Linked DNA regions of Homo sapiens: region 2 is linked to region 1. The links are contacts of gene promoters, found by promoter capture Hi-C in blood cells and fetal thymus (Javierre and others, 2016). All regions are on one chromosome and are shown on one strand. Each heading gives the region's core, a stretch centred on a gene start or on the middle of the fragment in contact. The rest is flanking DNA. Distances are from core to core; before and after follow the strand shown. Region 1 holds the start of KCNT2 (potassium sodium-activated channel subfamily T member 2). Region 2 holds the start of LOC124904597 (LINE-1 retrotransposable element ORF2 protein-like).

The links. The method cuts DNA at HindIII sites, captures the fragments that hold promoters and counts their contacts. A CHiCAGO score of 5 or more calls a contact.
Region 2: a contact is called between a fragment that was not itself captured here and the fragment with the promoter of KCNT2 in region 1, in 2 of 17 cell types (megakaryocytes and endothelial precursors). The highest score is 8.2, in megakaryocytes.

The regions. Positions count from the first base shown.
Region 1 is chr1:196,605,886-196,610,577 of GRCh38, reverse strand. It overlaps KCNT2 (potassium sodium-activated channel subfamily T member 2), which reads left to right and starts at 2,138. Exons shown (of 28, transcript NM_198503.5): 1 at 2,138-2,363. The coding sequence starts at 2,269. RefSeq lists an enhancer at 1,287-1,803. The HindIII fragment of the contact is 4,315 bases long and covers 941-4,692 here.
Region 2 is chr1:196,367,876-196,372,683 of GRCh38, reverse strand. All of the region lies in intron 14 of KCNT2 (potassium sodium-activated channel subfamily T member 2), which reads left to right. It overlaps LOC124904597 (LINE-1 retrotransposable element ORF2 protein-like), which reads left to right and starts at 1,506. Exons shown (of 2, transcript XR_007067045.1): 1 at 1,506-4,808. The HindIII fragment of the contact is 4,326 bases long and covers 1-4,290 here.

The DNA of each region.
Region 1 (4,692 bases), core at 889-3,388:
TTAATAGAATCATTTTAATAGGAGATGATAAGGTCTAAAATATAAACCAGATCTCTCTCTCTATCTCTATCTGTATAAACTAATAATGTAGCAATATTACTTTCTTATTTAGCAAAGTAATTACAAAAGTTCGTGCTAAATTATGATTTCATAAACAAACACATACCACAGGAGTGCAAGCATGGATGGAAAAAAACATGCTTAATTTCCTAGATTTAATAGCTTTTAATGCAACTCCACACCTATTTGTTGAAATGTGGCTATTTTGAAGGTCCCGTGCTAGAGGCAGCTAAGCCACAGGGAGAGGGGAAGAGTTGAAAGAAAAACGCACAGATAATCGTATAGCGGGTCAGGTTATAGTAAGCATTCCAGGCAAAATACTCACATGGGTTATGAAGGGTTCAAACAAAGGGGTTCAAAGGAAGAAGACATCATAAGAAGCTGGAAAAACCAAGAAATCTAATGGAGGATATGTAATTTGAGATGGGTCTGGAAGGATGAGTAGGATTTTGAAGACAGAGACAAACAGTATGACTTTTATTTCAACTGCTATTCTTCAGGTTTCAGTAGTCATTGTATTTCATTTGATGTTACAAGTTTTGGTAATTTCTTCCTTCATTTCTAGCTTCTTAAATAAACCCTCTGCTACATGACCTCTACTGAGCATTAATCATGCCAAATTAATCACTATTTTCTGGATAAGCCAAATATTCTAAAAAATCCCTATGCCTCTACTCATACTATTCTCTCTGCTTGCTTCACCTTTGCTCTTTTCCCTAAAGTAGGCTGCGAACGAATATAGAAGGCTTGGTTCATTTTCAATGTCTTCCTTGACCCCCACCTCGAAGAAGTATGTGTACCTCACAGGTATTTCCAAATCCCTCTGTATGTTCTTTGATTATTGTCTCTCACATCGTATCCATTTATCAAGGAACAAGCTTGTTCCTCCACACAGAGCGGTTCTTAAGTAAGGGCAGGAGAAGCCATATGGTTATCCTCCGGCCCAGGCTGTCAGGTGGTTGGTATTCGGTCTGTATATACTCTGATGCAATCAGTTTTTGAAGGAAAGAACGGTAAGCGCAAATAGAACCATAGCTTGTGTAGCAGGGTTCATGTAAGCAGTGGTTCTTACTGAAAAACAGACCCTGTTCTCTCGGGCTCACTTCTTCCTCCGTGTGAACCACTAATAGGAGGGGACCGAAGGCTGAGGCCAGGCCACCTGGAAGCCCACAACGCTGCTAGTAGCAGCGACAGCAGTAACAGCAACTCACCACTGTAAAATCCTCAGTGCGTTTCCATGTGCTTTCCCTGTCATCTAAATGCTTCTCTTCAGCGGCCTAAGGTGGCCCTTCTTTTTCCCCGAGTTCAGGGAAACACCTCCCTTCTTTCAGAATGTGAGAAAAAAATGGGATTTTCCTGGGGCTGAGAGTGGGGATTCCCTTTCCAGAAACGTGCAATTTTTTCATCCCGCCCACCTGGACTGAAGGCAATCAAAGCGAGGGAGCTCGTGGCATAGTGGAACACTCCAAGCACCCTGGCCCCCCTCCTCCCAGAGAAGGGTCTGGAGCCCCGCAATCCGCTAATTAGCTCGCCCCCATTGGTTGTCCCCAAGGCACCCCCGTGCCGTCACTGTGCTATGCTAATGAGGGGGAGTCTCATTGGCTGGGCCTCCAGCTCCATCTCCACAGGGAGATTGCGGGGAGAGCCGGGTTGGCCGCGTCTGGGGCCGAAACCCACCGCCCCCGATTCCCGCCAGCTCAGGGCTGTGCCGGATGCAAGCCCGCCCGAGGGAACAGTAGCCGGGAGGCTGCCCTCTGGGAGGATCTGGCAACTGCCTTTAAGGAAAGTGCTTCACCATCAAGCGGCGCTCACTCCCACCCCTCTCCCCTCTTTCTAGGCACCGCGCGTCTTTTTCGGCGAAGTAACTTTTTATACCCGCCTCCCCCTAGTCCTGGGGACCAGAGGCGGTGCCGAGCCTGGGGGCGGTTCCTTGGCAGCGTTGATTCTTGTCAGAGCCAGACTTTTGCTCCTGGGTTGGGTTTGCATCATCCCCATTACACCCTCGGGAAAGAGGAGCCAGCCCCCTTTCAAGCCTTAGCTTCCGGCTCCAAGCGGACCCCCTCCCCCTCCCTGTCCCCTTCCCCTTCTCCCATCCCTCTCTCGGCCACAGCGTCTTGTTAGTCCTCTCCCTGTACTCCGCAATATTTTCTTTCTTTCTCCCTCCTCTCCTCCATTTGTTGTTTGATGTTTCCCACTCTTTGAGGAAGGATGGTTGATTTGGAGAGCGAAGTGCCCCCTCTGCCTCCCAGGTACAGGTTTCGAGATTTGCTGCTAGGGGACCAAGGATGGCAAAACGACGACAGGTGAGTGGTGTGGTGGAGGATTGTTCTGTAAATATTGCTGAAAAAGAGACGGAAATGGGAGGGCCGAAGTGGGGAAAGGAGGGAGAAAAGGAAAACGGAGCCAGAGAGGGAGACTAGGCTGGGGGAGGGAGTAAAAGAGACTCTGATTTGTCTCTCCATTTTGACTCTATATAACTGTTGCTATAGATAAGGAACTCTTTTTCTTTACACTTTTCTTATTCTTGCAAGGTATTTATTGCATTCATTTGGTGCTTATTCTTTTGTCTATCTGTGCTTTTCTAGGATGTGTATAAGGCTGGTATCAGAGGTACAATACACCCAAATGGTATGCAATATCATTTCCAGAAAATTTGCATTTTTTCCTTAGGTGTGGTTAATCAAACTCAAAATTGCATGCAAGTTGTTTGAAAAAGCACATTAGAAACTTAAAATCTCCTGAGTCTATTTACCTCCTCCTTGTCTGTGTTGTCTTGAGTAGGTATCTACTTGGCACTGGAAATTTTATGCTGTTTAAACATTTTGGAGTTTTAAGTAGACAATTGGTTTAAATATGTAACAGGTAGTTAGTGAAAATGACAACCTTTTTAATACAATATACTCACTTTGAACAGGTGACTCTGACCATTATGAATAATGATGTTTGTATAACATGATACAACCTTTTCATAACTAGTATATTTTTTTAACTGAAACAGAATATATGTCTCAAAATTAAAATTAAGTTTCAAAACTAGAATATTTATTGTTAGCAAAATATTGTTCATGTGTTTTATTTATAGCATTACTGCTTTGCACAAACTTCTGAAATTCCTCTGTCTATTTCTGTCTCAAGCACATTTTGTATTTCAGCGAATTTAGTATTTTCTGGAATAGTCATCCCATATATCACATGCCACATTTCTTTGTTTTAAAATAATACATGTATACTAACTAGGTTCTCAACTCAATTGAAATGTTTCATTGAAGTTTAGTTTAGTATTGATGTGCTATTTTAGTTATATAAAAGATCCATTATTGGTCCAATCCAAAATCCCCTCCTCATTCACCACTGACCAATACACTCTATTTCTTTTCTTCACCTTTTCAGCTCCCAATACCAACTCCTGTCTCTACACACTGAGGATTTTATCTTGAGCATCAATTATGGGCATCTTGTTTGGTCTCATATTAGTAATTTGAAAGGAGATGGATGTTTTGTAGAGGATATTTTGGTTCAATCTCTTTTTTAGGCAAAACCACACATATTGGCTAAAAATTTAAAGAAGTAATACCAATTTCTCAGTATTCTTGTAAAGTGTTTGGGTAAACTGAAGATAAAGAAAATAATTTTTAAGTGAATTTGTAATACAAATTGACATTTAGATAAACTGCATTAGCCTGGTTAAATGGCTTAGTAAGTGTAGCATGGTGTTCCTAGTGACTGAATGTATATTTAGTTCAGGACCTCAGGATCATTATATAGAATAGAAATCCTCTTTGTAGAAAGTGTGAGATAGATTAAACACATAAAGCACATACTTTGGTTATAGTGATGGTATTGTTGTTTGTTTGTTTTAAATATCATATCCAATATGTTAATTTTCATGTGGTTGCCCTCATTTTTCTAAGGATGCTGCAGAAATATTTTAGTAATTAAGAATTTTGGTTAGTTGAACACTGCCTAAATGGATCAGTGCCATATTAAAAAAGTTTTGCAGAATGGTTAAAATTTTATGTTCTATTAAAAGGTTATGCTAGCCCAACTTTAACTTAAAAAGCAGGCCACATTTACTACTAAAATAAGTTATTAAATATTTAAAACAATCATTCAACCATTTTTAAGGATTTGGCTACTTTTGTGGCTTCATGGAAAACTATTCTTTGGTTTTGGTTCCATTTGTTGTTAATCTTTGAAGGCAAGATACTTGGAATCAGAGAAACCCAGATTCAGTCCTTGGCTGTTTCCTTCACTAGCTGAGTGGCCTTGGGAAAGTCATTCAGCCATTATGAGATTCAGCAATATTATTTTTTATAATGGGAATTATACTGTCTACCTTATAAAACTGTGACAAGAGGAAGGATGGAGAGGCGCAGAACTAACATTTAGTTGGAAATAAGTACTCCCAAGTTCTTTTAACTGTGCGGTATGTTCTTTCTTAGTTAATCCTCAGACAAACTCTGAATAGCAGGCAATTATGTTAGGCACAAGGAAACTGAAATTTTGGTAAATTAAATACGTGTCTTGGATATTATATCTTATCAGTGTAAAGATAACTCTTCAGTTCAGTTTATTATTATTCAAATCCCTCAAGAAATTCTTAAGTTCTTTTCACTTAATTTATTTGAACTT
Region 2 (4,808 bases), core at 878-3,377, 240 kb after region 1:
AATAGAATAATAACAAAGTAGTTGTATAAAATTAGCTAATGCAGTATAAATCACTTTTTATATGCATTTCAAGGTTGGAGAAAGTTGTACCATTAGAACCTTTTTTATTCTTGTTTGTTTATTTTGATAGAGTTTTATGAAATACAGAAGTTGTTTTTGACTAGGATGATCAAAGAAAATATAACTAGTGAACATAGTCATTGCTCTTATTTAAAGAGACAAATGTACTTCATTTCATATCTTGTCATATTTCTAATCTTATATTTCAGACAAAATGTTGATTTTCGAAGTAAATTCCACTTATGCTAGTGGTTATGATTACTCATATTAAGTAAGTTAATTGATAATTGTTTAGGTGAAGTGTCAAATCAAATAAATCCAGAAAAAGGAAAATTCTTTTTTGAGATTTATTTATAGATGGATAAGTTGTTAATTTAAAAGTAGTAAATACTCAGTGTTATATAAATTAGATTTTACTGTCTTACTTCTGACTGCCTAATTGGGATGGTAAAAGTTTCTTAGGAGCAATTTTCTCAAAGTTGTGAATAGGAATATTTCTATTCTATATACTTACAAGCCTTTAATCTGTGCAATAGGAAGGATGTAACAGGATTAGGAATGACGTTTATCTTCTTTGCAGAAAGTGTTTGTCATTTTGATGCAATTAAATAAAGTACTAAAAATTATTTTAACACCAATTAAGTGAACATTCATAGAACTCATCAAGTGTCTTCATTATTTTTCCGTAACGTCTTCGTACAGACTCAGACAACTGTAATGATGACTATCTAGGCAACTTCATTGTTGTATACATGAGTGATAAAATAAGTCCCATAAACACTATATAACACAGCTCATTACTCATGACTGAAGTTAAATTTCGTTGTGCATCTCCTAGTAAATATTATTTATTGACAAACAGTATTGCCTGGTGAAAAAGAATTATACTTCACATAAGTTAAAAAAAGATTTTAGTGATCCTTAGAATAAGACGTTTCCCAACATACTCTAATGAATTTTGCCTTATTAAAAAAGAAAGCAATGTTGTTGAAAACATTGTTATATAATTAAGGATTTCCTTTAAATAAGAGTGACTTGCAAAATTATTTTACAACTGTGTCACAGTAAATGCTATCATCCACCATAATAACTTCTTATAGTAGATTTATTGAAATAAAACTTACATACTATACAATTCACCCATTTAAAGTGTACAATTCAATATGTTAAAAGTATATTCATAGAATTATCCAACCATCACCATTAAATGATTCCAGAACCACATAAAGAAATTATCTACCCTTTAGCATCACCCTACATTTTCCCCCCACCAATTCTTGCAGCCCTAGGCAACCACAATCTATTTCTGCTTTTATAGATTTACTGCAGCCTCCACAGTAGCTGGGACTATAGTCATGAACCACCATGCCAGGCTTTTTTTTTTTTTTTTTTTTTTTTTTTTTGTAGTGACGGGATTTTGCCATGTTGCCCAGGCTAGTCTCGAACTCCTGGGCTCAAGTGATCCATCTGACTTGGCCTTCCAAAGTGCTGGAATTACAGACCTGAGCCATTAGGCTCAGCTGAAATCATTTTAGTATATTTGGTAATACAGTAAATAAATGAACGTAAAGAATTTTAAATAATTTGGTTTTGCTTTAGATTCAGGGGATATATGTGCATGTTGGTTACTTGGGTGCATTGCATAATGGTAGAGATTGGGCTTCTAGTGTACTGGTCACCCAAATGTTGAACATTGTACATAATGTTTTTCAAGGTTCATTCATATTGTAATATGCACCAGCACTTTATTCCTTTTTACAACTGAATAATATTCCATTGCATGGATATATCACATTTTATTTTTCCACTCATCAGTTGGTGGGTATTTGGGTTGCTTCTAACATTTTCACAATGCTGCTGTTAACATTTGTGAAAAGGTTTTTGTGTAACATAGGCTTTCATTTTCTTGCGTCTATATCTAGGAGTAGAATTGCTGGGTCGTATGGTCACTCTGTTTAGCTTCTTTAGGAACTGTCAGAATATTTTTCCAATAGCACTTTGATTATCATCATCAATATATCAGGATGCTACTTTCTTTACATCATCAGCAGTATTCGTAATTATCCGCGCTTTTTTTTATCATAACCATCCTAGTGGGCATGAAGTGGTCTCTCCAGCAACTTACCCAGTACTCTGACTAATACAATTCCCAAGGCTGATTAAAACTCTTACAATATAACATTTTCTTTTTCTATTTGTTATTATGTTAATTCCAGTTCTAGCTGATCTGTCAGTCATAAATAAATTAGATGACTTCATAGAACTGTGTAATTTATATTTTTAGAGAGTTTATTCTGTATTTTAATGCTTCTCAATTTTTTTCCTCATTTTTCAGACCCGCTCACTTTATTTACATTTGAGTGTTCTGTGCTCTTGGCAGTGGTATGTCTTATTGTTGATTAAATTAGCATTTTTATTTATTTGGCAATCTTGTCAAAAATAAGTTTATTCTCAATGAAAATAAATTTATTCTTCCACAATGGTTGAACTAGTTTACAGTCCCACCAACAGTGTAAAAGTGTTCCTATTTCTCCACATCCTCTCCAGCACCTGTTGTTTCCTGACTTTTTAATGATTGCCATTCTAACTGGTGTGAGATGGTATCTCATTGTGGTTTTGATTTGCATTTCTCTGATGGCCAGTGATGGTGAGCATTTTTTCATGTGTTTTTTGGCTGCATAAATGTCTTCTTTTGAGAAGTGTCTGTTCATGTCCTTCGCAGTGTGGTGATTCCTCAGGGATCTAGAACTAGAAATACCATTTGACCCAGCCATCCCATTACTGGGTATATACCCAAAGGACTATAAATCATGCTGCTATAAAGACACATGCACACATATGTTTATTGCGGCATTATTCACAATAGCAAAGACTTGGAACCAACCCAAATGTCCAACAATGATAGACTGGATTAAGAAAATGTGGCACATATACACCATGGATTATTATGCAGCCATAAAAAAGGATGAGTTCATGTCCTTTGTAGGGACATGGATGAAATTGGAAATCATCATTCTCAGTAAACTATCGCAGGAACAAAAAACCAAACACCACATATTCTCACTCATAGGTGGGAATTGAACAATGAGATCACATGGACACAGGAAGGGGAACATCACATTCTGGGGACTGTTGTGGGGTGGGGGGAGGAGGGAGGGATAGCACTGGGAAATATACCTAATGCTAGATGACGAGTTAGTGGGTGCAGCACACCAGCATGGCACATGTATACATATGTAACTAACCTGCACAATGTGCACATGTACCCTAAAACTTAAAGTATAATAATAAAAAAACAAAAATAAATAAAAAAAAATTTATTCTTTAGAAAAAATCACCTTTGAACATGGACTATAATGATTTCCACAAGGAAATGCTGGATTATCAGTCCAGTTTGTTAACATTCAACTGGCCCATCCTGATTACATTTCAGCTTTATCAGAATTTTAAAAATTTAGCAATTCATTTTCTTTGTCTTTCAATTTGTTTTCACAATACTTAATTAGTCCCATCCATGAGGTAATCTTTTTCACCTCAGTAATAATCGAGGGGTAAGAAAAAGAGAGAATTGATAAGAAAAATACTGCTTAGTTAGAATTCACAGAAGTTTGCCACTGATTAGATATGAGTGTAGAAAAGAGAGAGGGGGAAAAAAAGAAAATCTCCTCACTTATTGACACTGGACAGTAGAAAATAATGAAGTACATAGTTGGCAGAAGGAAAAGTGGTTTGATATTGGATGTATTTGCTTTCTGATGAAGACATAATGTGGTAGGAATTGCTGCACGCTTGGTTCCTGAGGTGGTGGATCGTGCCAGTCAGGCTCACAAATGTGAAGGAGGAAGTAGTAGGGATTTGGGAGAAATGACAATTTGAGACTATTTTCTAGGAATTTATTAATTCTAGGAAATAGAGTGAAGAAAAGGAAAGCAAATATAGTATAGCATAATAAAATAACACTGAGATAGGATTTCTAAAAGGAACTGGATTGTTAACAACATAGATGATTCTAGATTAAGACTGAGCAAGCATTTTGGAGGCTGTTCTCTGAGGACTTCTGAAAAAACAATTTCTACAATGGGGATTTTCTTATTGTGAGAAAATATGAACAAATTAAGGAATGATAAGAAATGAAGTGTGGTTGGAGATTGCTACTTCATTAGGTTTGTTCATTAATCGAAGAAAGAAAAATAATGGAAGTCCTATTGCACAGAAATGTTAAGGAAAGCTTTTTCTATGTACACAAGTATTTATCTATTTTTGTTTGCTTTTAATGTTTAAATTTTAAGTACCACTAAAGAAAAAGAGATTGAAAACGCAGTGAGGGAGTAAAGGATGAGATCCGGAGACTGGAATGCTTCTGCATGATAAAGGGAAAATCATTTATTCCTTAGGAAGTAATGGGTGAGGCAAGTGGTGATTTACACTAATTTTATTTCTGTGGAATAAGGAATATTGCATTAGTTAAAAATGTGTTCTGCCCCATGTAATGTAATATCTCACTGAAAGTAGGGGTGGTGTTTAGTTTACACCTTAAAAACTATGGGTTCAGCATCCAGAGCAGGCTATCTGACTCAGTGACGTCATCAGAGCACGTTGTTCTGTTTTCTTATTCCAACATCTTTACCCTATAGTCTTTACCCTTCAGGATTCTCTTATTGTAATCGTAAAATGCATTCTCTGCTTCAGGCTAGTCTTCTAGGTAAGAAGATGGAAGAATGTCAAAGGGGCAGATTATTGCCAACTGA